Linked DNA regions of Homo sapiens: regions 1 and 3 are each linked to region 2. Evidence: promoter capture Hi-C in human tissues and cell types (Jung and others, 2019). All regions are on one chromosome and are shown on one strand. The core of a region is centred on a gene start or on the middle of the fragment in contact, and the rest is flanking DNA. Distances in the headings are between cores, read along the strand shown. Region 1 overlaps LOC105373790 (a long non-coding RNA gene). Region 2 holds the start of COL3A1 (collagen type III alpha 1 chain). Region 3 overlaps GULP1 (GULP PTB domain containing engulfment adaptor 1).

Region 1 (4,679 bases), core at 339-2,838, 310 kb after region 2:
AGTACTGATCCACGTTGCAACATAGATAAACCTTGAAAACATGCTAAGTGAAAGAAGGCGGACACAAAACGACATGTATAGAATGATTCCATTTATATGCAATACCCAAAATAGACAAGTGCTAGAGACAGAAAACAGAATAATGGCTGTCGAGGGCTAGGGATTAGACAGAATGTGGGATGACTGCTAAATAGGTATTGAATTTTCTTTTGGGGTGATGAAAAATGCTCTGGAACTAGATAGTGTTGCATAATGCTGTTAATGTCCTAAATGCCACGCAATTGTACATTTTAAAATGGTTAAAATAGTAAATTTTATTTTATAGGTATTACACCAAAAATTTTCTAACTACATTGTTGACAACGACTGACCATATGGTCTACTGTTTATTTAAGAATTTATGTTTATTGAATTTCATAGAGATTTTCTAATGAAAGCTTTAAAGCATGAATATCTGTTCTCTCATGAAATCATAAGATTAATGACAGTACATGAATTTGTAAATGGATATAAGCCTATAATGTCAAAGATAATTAATTGTGAACTAACATCAGCAAGTAATATTTGTCAATAATATTTAGGAAAGTAGGATGAAGAACGATTAATGATGTGGCAGAGAATGTTCATCGTTCCTAGAATTCATTCTCCTTACTTTGTTTATAAAATTTGTAGATGGGAGCAGGAAAATGGAGCCTATTCCCAAAACTTCTTACTCCTAAAGTTAAATTGTGAGTCATTCCTTCATTTTCCCAAAGTATAACAGTGATCTTTGTCCAGATGAGGTTCCAGAAGCTGGATTTATCAATTATTATTAACTATTAAAGCCAATCTCTAAAATGGAGATCAGTATATGTGGAAATATTAAGATTATGCACAATTTCTACCAAGATACCAATAGTGAGAGAATTTAACTTCTAAGCACTGCTTCTGCAAATTTTGAAACATATTTTATTTATACATCAAAAATCTTCATTATCTTAATAAGATTCTTATACTGTCACACTCTGTGCAAGTTATCGTAATAAAGAATCTGCTTTAGAAACAAAAAAAATTTACAAGAAAAAAACAAACCAACCCATCAAAAAGTGGGTGAAGGACATGAACAGACACTTCTCAAAAGAAGACATTTATGCAGCCAAAAAACACATGAAAAAATGCTCACCATCACTGGCCATCAGAGAAATGCAAATCAAAACCACAATGAGATACCATCTCACACCAGTTAGAATGGCAATCATTAAAAAGTCAGGAAACAACAGGTGCTGGAGAGGATGTGGAGAAATAGGAACACTTTTACACTGTTGGTGGGACTGTAAACTAGTTCAACCACCGTGGAAGTCAGTGTGGCGATTCCTCAGGGATTTAGAACTAGAACTACCATTTGACCCAGCCATCCCATGACTGGGTATATACCCAAAGGACTGTAAATCATGCTGCTATAAAGACATATGCACATGTATGTTTATTGCGGCACTATTCACAATAGCAAAGACTTGGAACCAACCCAAATGTCCAACAATGATAGACTGGATTAAGAAAATGTGGCACATATACACCATGGAATACTATGCAGCCATAAAAAATGATGAGTTCATGTCCTTTGTAGGGACATGGATGAAACTGGAAATCATCATTCTCAGTAAACTATCGCAAGGACAAAAAACTAAACACCACATGTTCTCACTCATAGGTGGGAATTGAACAATGAGAACACATGGACACAGGAAGGGGAACATCACACTCTGGGGCCTGTTGTGGGGTGGGGGGAGGCGGGAGGGATAGCATTAGGAGATATACCTAACGTAAATGACGAGTTAATGGGTGCAGCACACCAGCATGGCACATGTATACATATGTAACTAACCTGCACATTGTGCACATGTACACTAAAACTTAAAGTATAATAATAATAAAAAAAAACCAGAAGAAAGAATCCATGTCAACTTTAAATGAAGGCCCCTTTCCTTGCAAACATTAAAGCACTTGCAACATCAAGCAAAGTATATTAGGAAAGGAAGCCTAGGGATTCTGGAATGTAAACAATTTTGTTATTTAAAATATGCATGTGTTTGAATTCTTCAAAGAGCAGTCCTTATTCTATCTTCAATATGCATTATCATTTTCTGCAATTAAAAAAATTCAGTTACTTTTTTAGTAATACACTGGTATTTGGGTATGGGGGTGTACAGTGAGATGAGGAACAAAGAATGGGAAATAATGTATTAAGAAGTTTGATATTTGACAGGCTCAAGAAGAGGCTATTCAAGATGTAGTGCAAGACTATGTGGTAATCTTGATGTACGGAGACTGGACCCAACTGTAGTCAGACCCTTGAATAGATTAAAATTTCTTCTAACTCAACCTTCTCCCTCAGAAATTCCTTCTAACCCAGTCATCTCCCTGGGCAAATCCTATGGGACAGTAGTTTCAGGGGACACTACAATGAAGCATACAATGACTCAGACTATAAAAAATTTCTGTTCTCTTCCATCTTAATCTCACTGTCATTCTCCTTTAGCTAGTTACCTAATCTCAGTTTCTTATCATATGCTCATACCTTGCACTCCACACCATTCAAGTATTAAAACTTTTTAAGGAATTAATATTTTGGATTTCAATTTCAAAATTAATCTTAAAATACTGCATCCAACTTTAATTGGTTAGTCTCCTATGAGTGAAAAAATCTAGTGTCATGTGCCAAAATGAGCAAAATGAAATAGAAACTCTCAAAAAACTTCATAATTTTCTGTTTTAGATTATTAATTGCTGCCCTTCATTTTAACAAAAATATCTATAAAGATATTTAAATTTAGGTGAAATATACACATTTAGATTACCAGTACTTTATTTAGGTTTAAGTGTTTTTATGTAACTTTACTCTCATTTTAGAAAACAAAAATCCTCCTCTTAAGATGCATTTGTCTGCAGTTTTCATTTCTTGTAATGTCTGTTTTGTTTTGGTTTCAGGCTAATGCATATATCCTAAAGTGAGTTGGGAATTATTCCAACCTCCTCTCTTTTCTCAAATAATTTCTGTAGAATTGATATTTTTTTATCCATAATTGTTTGATATAAATAGCCCACGAAGCCATCTGGACCTAATGTGTTTTTTTAGGGAGACAATTTTTATATATAATTTTCATGTATGAGATTGATAAATGTTCAGATTATCTATTGGTAATTTGTATCTTCAAGGGATTGGTCTATTTCATCTAAATTGTCAAATTTATGTGCATGGAGTTGTTTGTGGTAGTATCTTTTCCAGTGTCTGCAGGGTCAGTAATGGTATTCCCTTTTTCATTGTTTATGAGGTTATTTGTGTTTTCTCTCCTTTTCTCCTGCTAAGTTTGTTAAGAACTGTATCAGTATCAGTGATTGTACAGTGTAATCATTTCCTGTTCGTCTTTGCTCTTTATTGTATCCTTAGTATAAACTCACTTTTAGCTGACTAAATAAAGCCCATTTCTGTTACTTACAACTTTAAGAATTCCAATGTGCCCTTATTTTAAGCAATACATAACAAGATAAACAAAAATCTGTAAACACTTTTGGAGCACAACCACTGAATGAATGAAGTGGAAGAAGATTCCTGAAGAAATAAAAGCACAATGAAACTAAATAAATTTTATAAAGTAAAAGAAAAATATTTTGGGTACAATGACTGATGCCTCCCCTTATTTTCCATTTTCCAAGCATAAAGACAAATTAAATTATTCTGGAAATGCTTTTCCTAACAAAGGGGACAGTTTTTTAGGTTGGTTTGTTAACAGAATCCTGTGATCTTCAAAGCATGCACAAATAAATTCTTAGCAATGGTATATCTATGTTTTCCTAGGAACGAGAAAAAAATTCATGGTTTCCTTAGGAACTGAAAAAGTCCATGAATCCTAGAATATATATTTTCCTATCTTCTATTATTTTCATTGTTATCACTATAATTATCTTGATTCTGAAATCCCTTCAGCTGACACCTTAATCGGTCAAGTTTTTAGGTCCTGGTCCATGTTGTTAGAGGAGAATATCTTTAGAATAAAGTCATTTTGGTTAAAGTATATCATATATTTTAAAACAAAATTAATATTGTTTGGAAGTTTTAAATTTCTCCTAAAATATTAGAAAAATTTGGCATATCACAAAATCAACAATGGCAATATTTTAATTGATAAATACCTACCCAGTTAGTTTGATAAACAGTTAAATTTCATATTGACAATTTACTTTCCATCCAAACTAAACAGAAAATGTAATTAACTTTAGATTCTACTTTTTCTAATCTTTATGTGTTGATGACAGCTGAAAACATTTTCATAAATTATGTATTATCTTCTTATTGTAATATTCTTCTGCTATAAAAATATAACTTCATATCCCTAGCATCTGCCTTTCAAAACATCTTCAAATCATTATGATTTTCATAAACTAGATTAAAACAACTCAAATGATTTCCAAATACATTAATTATAAATATACGCAAAACATTTTATTTTTGTATACCAACATGTGCATTTAAGATCAACTTCATAAACTTTTAGTAACATTAAACAGAGAAAATATAAAATGAGATTACTTTTTAATTAGAAATATAAAAACTAAAACTACACAGCAGGTTTACAGAGTTTGTTCAATTATCTCAGAAATATACAAATTGTACTTTTTTCATTAACGTTTCAAAAAGCCAT
Region 2 (4,196 bases), core at 1,294-3,793:
ACATTAATATTGGCATTCGTTATGTAAATGGTAACCTGGCTTGTCAGCCACTAGGTGACGCATCTTTGTACTTAAAACTTGGCATGTTTATAATCTACAGGAAATATAAAACAGACTATGTTTCTCCATTGGTGGATTAAAACACATGAATTAAATACAATGTTCACAAATTTGTAAGACGACCAAAATTCTTTTTGAGGACTTGTTTGTATCCAGAAAATGCCTGTGAGTGAACTAGAAGTGAGTGTTCATTAGAGCTGTGCCGTCTCTGAAGTTATGAGGGCATATATAAGAAACCCCACCCCAGAACTTTATGACAGCTCTCAGTGTGCTGTATATTCAGATACCTCCTGTAACTTTTCCAAAGCTTATCTAATAGCAGAATTTCCTTGTAAAACCCACAGGGAACATAAGATGTACTGTCTTAAGTCACTTCAACTTTACTTTTACTCATGACAAAAAAAATAGGCTGAACAGTTCTCTTTCAACTCTTTTTGAGCTTAAGAACACACAAACACATATCAGCAAAATTTTATACTTATTGATTATTTTTTGCATCTAAAGAGAAAGAGGGAAATAAACAGAACTTAATGTGATGTCAAGGTACTGTAAGTGGCAAACACCCCCCCACTAAAGTTGGATTGGGAAGAAAAATAGCCACAGTGCTTATAAAAAGCTTGCAACCACGAGGCAACTACAAATATGTTGCAATTTTTTGAGCTAAAACCCCTAAGTTTGTAGTCTTTTCAATAAATGGTTGGTGGGGGATAGTAGTCATTTGGTATCCTAAAAAAGGACTGTGAGTTGTAGCATCTCCTGGGAAGAGCAGGATAGGGAGGAAAAGGGGAGAGGAATGAGAAAGGAAGAAGGATTGAGAGTTCAGGGGAAAGAAAGGGTGAGGAGGCAAGGAGAGAGAGAACTAAAAAAAAGAAATGGAGGCATAAGGAGGCCACATGGGGAGTAGGGAGGGAGTAACAGGCAGGGAAGACAGAGGAGGAGAGAGGAGTAGATATGGGCTTGCCTAGGAAGGGGTGGGGTGATGAGTGAAGAGAAGTCTAAAGGAGCCAAAAGGGGTGGAGAGAGATAAGGAGGAGGGCAAAGCGAAGGAGAGGAGGGGTAAGGAGGAGAGGAAATTAAGGGAACAAGGAAAATGGGTGTTTCTTTTCTTTTGTGTCCATGGGCTGAATATAACTGAAGACATTTCATTGTATATCTACCCCTCCCCTCATACACACATTTACATGTATTAGCTATGAGGACAACAAATACATTTGATATTACAAACAAAAACCAAATTTTCATGCAGTGTCCTTTGCAAAATCTATATGTTTAAATGTAACCATGTTTAGTTATGTGCAATAAAAATTGTCTAATAATTTCTCCTAGCTATCTTTACATTTAGCACTTAAATATTTATTTCTATGGAAGTTTGTATTCCAATTTGTTCAGCATTTTCATGACTATGGTAAATAAAAGAATATTTTCACATAAATAATGAGACAAATGTGTTTTTAGGGGAAATTAGAATATGAAAAACATTACATGCAATTATTAGAAAATATAGCAAAACAGCTTTCTGAAGTCAAACAGTACTAGTATCTTTACCTTGTTTGCAGCAAAGTCAAACCTCCTGTTGAAACATTTTAAAAAATATTTTCTTCATTAATGCGAATGTGGTTAAAACGTAGAATATGTGGAAAATATTAGTCCCTTAATATCAAGCTACTAGAAAAGATGAATTAATCAATCATTCTTGAAACAAAATAAAAACAGGAATAATAAAATATTTTAGCAGTTTGATCCCTTTGAAGAATGTTTATAGGTATCTTGTAGCCATTTTACAGAAATATATTCAATGATTCTGATAATGCGTAGAATCTTCCTTTAGACTGTTCTTAATCCATGATATTTGAAAGGCATTCTTATTCAGAAAACAATGCTCAATATTCTAACCTTACAAAGAATCCAGCAGACAAAGAGGAACATAAAATTATTGCAAGAGACCAATAACTTCCAGACTGCCTGGGGAAGTATTCCAAGATGTTAACAATCCAGGAGGGAAAAATTTTAAAGCCATTTTTAAAAGTTTCCAGTGCCTTTAACATGAAAACAAGTTAGTACAAGAACATCTTATCTTAACCACAGAACTCTTAAAAACACACATAACGCGATTATTTTTCAAGTAATGTAAAAAGCACAGCCATGGTCAGTTCAACGTTTCACAATCTGGAGCTTATAGAGGAAATTATCTTGAATCAGGCAACTGATTTTCCCCTTTACACCCCTCTTTGTGAGGAGAAGAAAGACAAAAATCCCATAAAGTTTCTTGAAATCAGTACCTACTCACCTTCCTGTTGTGCCAAAATAATAGTGGGATGAAGCAGAGCGAGAAGTAGCCAGCTCCCCTTTTGCACAAAGCTCATCATGTCTAAATATCAGACATGAGACTCTTTGTGCAAAAAGGAGAAAAGAAAAGCAGTTCAAAGTAGCACCATCAAGTTGTTCCCTGCCCTTCAGCACCGGGCCCGTCATAAAACTCAGCCACTGAGATTCCTTTGCTTTGGCCTTAAATAGGAAAAAGTTTGGCTTCCCTCACTTTCCAGCCCCTTTCTGAAATATGAGAGCCGCACCCATCCCCTCAGCAGTAAAAGAAATGATAAATATTTCTTTTTCCCTTATAGAAGACACAACCCACAGTAAGAAAAAGAGCACATCTGGAGTTTGTATGCATCTGCTTATGTAAAAGTTTTTTTACATATTTCACTCTTACATATATGTTTGTATAACTTAGGAACGTATAGAAATGCTCTGCCTTGTTTTAATACATACAATGTAAATGCATACATTTTTATTTCCCCTTATGAAGTTAACAACTGCATAATTTTGAAAAACTGCTTGATGCCCATTTATCTAGTATGTCTAATTTACAGAACTGATCTTCCTAGAAGATTTTTATGTTGGGATTTTGCCAGAAGTAATCCTAACTCAATTTAAATAGGAGACTGTAAGAGACTCACGGAAAGAAATGCCACCGTATGCCCCTTCGACTCATCCACCCACCCTGGGTCCTAGAAGTTAAGTTTCAGGCAAATATCAAAAGACAAAGTATTTCAGCAATGTTTGAATGGCTTCCTAAAAGTTAGATACTTATCTATAGCTGTTTCCATTTCTCACAAATTTCTTTAGCAAGCCAGAGTGCTTTCTTGTGAGATTTCCAATTTTTATGCTGCCTGGGAAAGACAGAGCAGATTTTTCTAGAGAAAAATTCAGCCTTTTCATGACATAACTTTTTAGGAAACTGGAAGAGAAAGAGTTTATCACATAGAATAGCAAAAGAGTACCAGAGAAAGTGGTCATTTTTTCTGCATTACTCTAAAGATTAGTATAAATATTTCTAATTTAGACTTTTATGTGTATACTTTCCAGATCCTCATCCACAAAACTTTCCAATGTATTTCTGGATCTATCTAAGCAGTAATTTTTGTGTCATATTTGAAAGAGGGGCAAATACCATTTATAGGTCTTTGATAAATCTCTGCAGGAAAAATATGCTTGTCCACAGTATAAGGCTATATCTGGCAATGGAGATATCTCTTTACACCCTAATCATCAGTTCATAGTTAGTTCATCTATCTCTATAATCTACGGTGGACATTTCAATTCTAATCAAGGTCACTTGAACTAATTTTCTTCACCTTCACCTAAACATGTCCGTCTCTATGCCTGTGCACATAAAATTCTCCCCATTTCACACCAATTAATGGAAGTCACTTCCTTATGCCTCAATGCAAAACTTTCCTCCTTAAGTAAATTACCTCCTTTAAACTAATTTTCATCTTTCTCTTTCTTCTAATTTGTGTTACTAAATTTTCACTCAACTCATGTCATATGTATATTCCCAGGTGTACATGAATCCTGTAAGCATGGACAGTGGCAAACTTGCTTTCTTGTTTCTTGCATCTTTTTTTTTTTTTTTTTTGCGACGGGGTCGCCCTCTCTCGCCCAGGCTAGACTGCAGTGGCGCAATCTCGGCTCACGGCAAGCTCCGCCTCCCGGGTTCACGCCATTCTCCTGCCTCAGCCTCCCGAGTAGCTGGGACTACAGGCGCCCGCCACTACGCCTGGTTAATTTTTTGTATTTTTAGTAGAGACGGGGTTTCACCGTGTTAGTCAGGATGGTCTTGATGTCCTGACCTC
Region 3 (4,520 bases), core at 662-3,161, 390 kb after region 2:
CTTGCTTTTTATTTTACAGGCTTATAGGTGTTTTCTAATTCATCAAAAAGAGACTTTAATATTCCTTCCAGATATATAAAAGATAAAACAGAAAAGCAATGAATTTATAGCATTTTAGATAGGAAAGAACCCTTACAAAAGGTTAAGAAATCATGATATAATTTATATATTTTTTAACAAAAAAGTCCATAAACCCTATGATAACAAAAATATTTTAACCAGCTCTATTAAACATGTAAAAAATGATCAATTTAATTACCACCAGTTATTTTTAAAAGTTAAAGTAAAATATTAAAAATATAACCCAAAACAGTGATATATAATTAAATATGAAGTAATACACCAAAACATAATTGTTCACACAATAGGTAAAAGTTGCAAGCAGAGATGTCATTAGTAGTGTAGTCTGAATTATAAAGTAAAATAGAATTAATGGAAATTTATACAAATATAAAAATAATACTTTAATAATTAAAATTGTAAGTAAGGTTGTTAAGATATGTAATTTCCCACAAAGTCTTAATTATATATTTAAAATGTATGCAACTATAACAAGAAACTTTGATTTGTTGAGAAAGCTTACTAATCTCAGTAGATCTACTAGGTACTGGAGGTGGCTGTGTGCCATTGCGAGTAGGCATCGAAGACTGGTGTGATATTGGAGAAAATGGAATCATATCAAAGATGTCAGTGGAGGGCGACTTAGGTGTCATACTGCCTGCCTGCAATGAAAATAAATGAATTAGGGTAATATTTCATATAGACACATTGTAATGCTAAATATTTCATATGCATATAAAATATATGTAAACAACAATTTCAGTTGCATCATAAGAATTTGCCATTTTGTAGACCAAAAATAGTTAAGTATTCGCAATTTCATATGGTTCCACTAATTATGATAAATGCTCATTTAGAAGAAAGCAATAGAAAATTTCTGTAAAAATGCTCTCAAAGATGATGGCAAAAACGGTGACAATATTATTCCAGATGAATATAAAAGATACAGTGAATTTTTGGGATATATAGAAATGACTGCTACTTGTAACAGAGAATTAGATATATTAGAAACTATTCATGTAAAAATATGATTTCAGTAAGATACGCTGCATAAGATTACATTTTAAACTGGAATAATTAGACATAAGTGACCTGCCTTCTTAAATATAAACATTCAAATGCAATTGATTTTTTTTGCATTCTCAAAAGTAGAGTATATTTTAGTTTGTATTTATATCAACAATGGGAACCAACTGATATTCATTGCAGTACATTTTACTCCTGAAAGATTTCATCAAGTTTTCTGTAATAAATAGCAATCTTATAAACTAAATTAATAATCGCCAGTGTACTGCCCAAATCATTGAGTTTTCTGATACAGTCTGGGCCAGGACTGAACACATATAGGGAAAGATAAATGAAAATCTCATGAAAATGTAGCCAAGAAGTAATATCAAAATTAGACATTTATCACTTTGTAAAACAGGGAACAATATGTATATATGTATAATCTCCTTTGAAAACCATCTGATTTGATCAGGGATAAAAGAGAATTTCCATTTTGGGGGAATAGTGGCGAAAAATTTGCTTTTCCTGTGAGAACTTGGACAGAGATTGCTTCCAGTAGTTCATATTAAAATTAGAATTCTCAGAATACGTTTAATTTTCTGATTCACAGGTAGTGCAGGTGATGAAAAAATCAGGCTTATTGTGTGTAGAGAATGATGGGTTTGCTATTCAGCTAAAATAATTGCTAGTACATTATTTTTCATGCAGGAAAATTGCTGTCATCCCCCTTTCTTTAACAATTTGTTTATTGTATCCCCTCACCCCTTTACTGTTACTCAGCAATACCATTCCCCTAATTATCCCATTCCTGTATCCCCTCTCACTTCTATATCTCTACTCTTTTTCACGATACAAAAATTCTAAAATCTTGGCTGTCATTAAAAGCAAAACAAATCAATCAAAAATTTATTTACTCTGTCCCTCTTTAATCTTCCAGCCTCTATTCTGTTTTTCTTTTTCCTTCAAGGCTAAGCTCCTTGAAAGAGATACTACACTTTCTGTCCTAAGATTTACTTCATTCTATCTTTAACTCTTATCAATCTAGATTTGTTCTTTTTGCACTGAACTCTGCTGAAATTGCTCTTACCAATGATCTAATTTCCCAACTGCAACATCTGATAGATCCTTTGAAGTATCTGTATGTAAATTTCTACACTGTCACCACCCTCTACTTGAAACTTTCTGGTATCAGGTAATCAAAGAAAACAACAATGGCACACAAAGGCTCCAGATCACATCACATTGACTCAAGATACATCTAAATTTTTGATAACTTTACAAATAGCACATTTTGGCAGAATTTAAGCAAAATAAGTGGGATAATAAAAAAGAATTATCTGCTTAGCAAATTACATGAGGTCTTGGGATGCTGCTCTCACTGACTGGCTTGGGAAAGCCACATTTAGAAGGTGGTGGTATTAACAGTCCCAGTGATAGTCTGGAATCAGGCGAGTTGATAGGAGTGACAGAGATGGAAGAAATATTGAGACAGGGAGATGAATCACCATTACTACGCCAGAAAGAGGATGAGCATCTCTGAAACACATGTTGTTCATGATCAGACATATTGTGCAGCAGCTGTAAAGGAATGACAGAAAAAGAAATATCCTAAGAGGGCAGGCATGGAGGAAAGGAGAAAGTATACTTGAAATTTATTTGTAAAATGGTGTTTTGTTAAGATGATAAGATCATTTCACAGTAACTTTTCTAAAATTAAAACATAGAGTTAGAGTTGATTTTCCTATGTGATAGTCCTTAGATTCTGGATTGCTTAATTTGATCTTTTTTTTACTGAAATATTACATTTTTTGGTATTTTAAATAGAATATTGCATTCATCGGGACCTAAGAGGAAGGTAATGGAGAGAAACATGAAGAAAGCCTGAAGATTTATTTTGGAGAGGGCTTCTGTAATGAAATGGAAAAAGGAAGGATAGTAATGAGAGAACAGTTACAGAACTAGGAGTAAACTCTTGTACATAAAGTTATGGTTGTGTAGAATTTTCAAAAGGGATTACAACATACATTTTATATTTAATCCTCAAAACATTATTTGAAGTATCAGTAGTAGTGATATTATGTCCTTATTACAATAAATACATGGGAATTAAGGTCCACAGATTCTTTGTGACTTGTATGAGGTAGAAAGCAGATTCAAAATTCAAAACAGTCTGACTCTAGTCATCATGCCCTTTCTATAGTCATGAGGAGCTCCAAATTGTAAGACTTTTTGGGTGATGGGAAGAGGTGATTGACAAGGATCTCAAATAAATCAGAGAGATAATGAATAACAAGCAAGCAGTGTACTAGGTCTGAACATCAGTATGTGCATGACTTTTAGGGGCTATTTCCATTACAACATGGAAAGCTACTGTTAAGAGCTGAGCTGGAGAGAGCTGAGCTGCCAGATGTCACAGTGGCCAATTAAACAGCAGCCAAAATGGAAGTAATAATTAAGTCTTTATTCATTTACTGCTATAGTATAAGCAAGAGGCCAGAGAGAAGGTGCCTGCTCCATCAATGCTCCATTTTCCCCAAGGAATGGCACTTGAGCAAGGGTCAGATGTATCACTGCAGAAGTGAGGCTTTGTCTCATTACTTAGGGACTCCTGAACAAAAGGTTCCTGAGGGTTTTTTTCGGACAAGAGACGGTAGGAGGGAGAAGGGAAGGGCTAGCAGTAGAAAAGTACTGAATACTGAGTCATACTGGAGAAAAGTGGTCTCCAAGACCCTCGAATAAGGTGGTCTCAGGAGAGGCACCTAAGGCCCCCTAAAAGGAGGCCCCTGAGTGGAGTTGCCTGGGCTATAAATGCAGATATGCACAAGAGCATGGCTGGCCAGGGCACCTGAGTACTAGATTCAATTCCTCCAAACTGTGCACCAAATACAATGTGATGAGGGCACCTTTCTCCCACCAAATACAATGTGATGAGGTGTGCCAGGCAAAGCCTTTGTAACTGCCTACGCTCGGGCCAGAAAGATCGCACATAAGATTCTGGCCGGGAGCCACATTCCTCAGCCGCAAATCACATGTCAGAGATCTTTCACCACTAACAAAAATTCAGGCAGCCAAAAATAATCTGATTTTTGATAAACTTTATTGTAAAAGGTAGTAACTAAAATTAGAATTTTAAGGACCAACAAGTCTGAGGTATGTCCTTAAGCTAGGAGGCCCCCCTTCACATATTTCTGGAAGCAGAGAGAAAAAGGAAGCCATGTAAAGTGAGAGATTAAATTGAGGGAAGGGTTCAGTGTGGAAGCAGAACCTCTGCTAGTCTGAGTTATATAATTAATCACTCTATTAATATGCATATATAAATACATAATTTTTTATTTCTCTGTTGATCTCCATTTTTTTTTTTTTTTTGAGACGGAGTCTCGCTCTGTCGCCCAGGCTGGAGTGCAGTGGCGGGATCTCGGCTCACTGCAAGCTCCGCCTCCCGGGTTCACGCC

Evidence for each region. The method cuts DNA at HindIII sites, captures the fragments that hold promoters and counts their contacts. A contact is called where the count stands out against the background at its distance.
Region 1: a fragment that was not itself captured here is called in contact with the fragment with the promoter of COL3A1 in region 2 in 1 of the 25 tissues and cell types used here (mesenchymal stem cells).
Region 3: a contact is called between a fragment that was not itself captured here and the fragment with the promoter of COL3A1 in region 2, in 1 of the 25 tissues and cell types used here (aorta).

What each region holds. Positions count from the first base shown.
Region 1 is chr2:188,657,581-188,662,259 of GRCh38, reverse strand. All of the region lies in intron 1 of LOC105373790 (a long non-coding RNA gene), which reads right to left. Among named protein-coding and RNA genes, the nearest start is that of DIRC1, 130 kb to the left of the region's middle. The HindIII fragment of the contact is 3,716 bases long and covers 1-3,446 here.
Region 2 is chr2:188,972,720-188,976,915 of GRCh38, reverse strand. COL3A1 (collagen type III alpha 1 chain) reads right to left here and starts at 2,543. Exons shown (of 51, transcript NM_000090.4): 1 at 2,348-2,543. The coding sequence starts at 2,426. The region is part of intron 1 of LOC105373791 (a long non-coding RNA gene); the gene reads left to right. The HindIII fragment of the contact is 6,513 bases long and covers 523-4,196 here.
Region 3 is chr2:188,580,467-188,584,986 of GRCh38, reverse strand. It overlaps GULP1 (GULP PTB domain containing engulfment adaptor 1), which reads right to left. Exons shown (of 12, transcript NM_016315.4): 10 at 584-722. Among named protein-coding and RNA genes, the nearest start is that of DIRC1, 210 kb to the left of the region's middle. The HindIII fragment of the contact is 5,483 bases long and covers 1-4,520 here.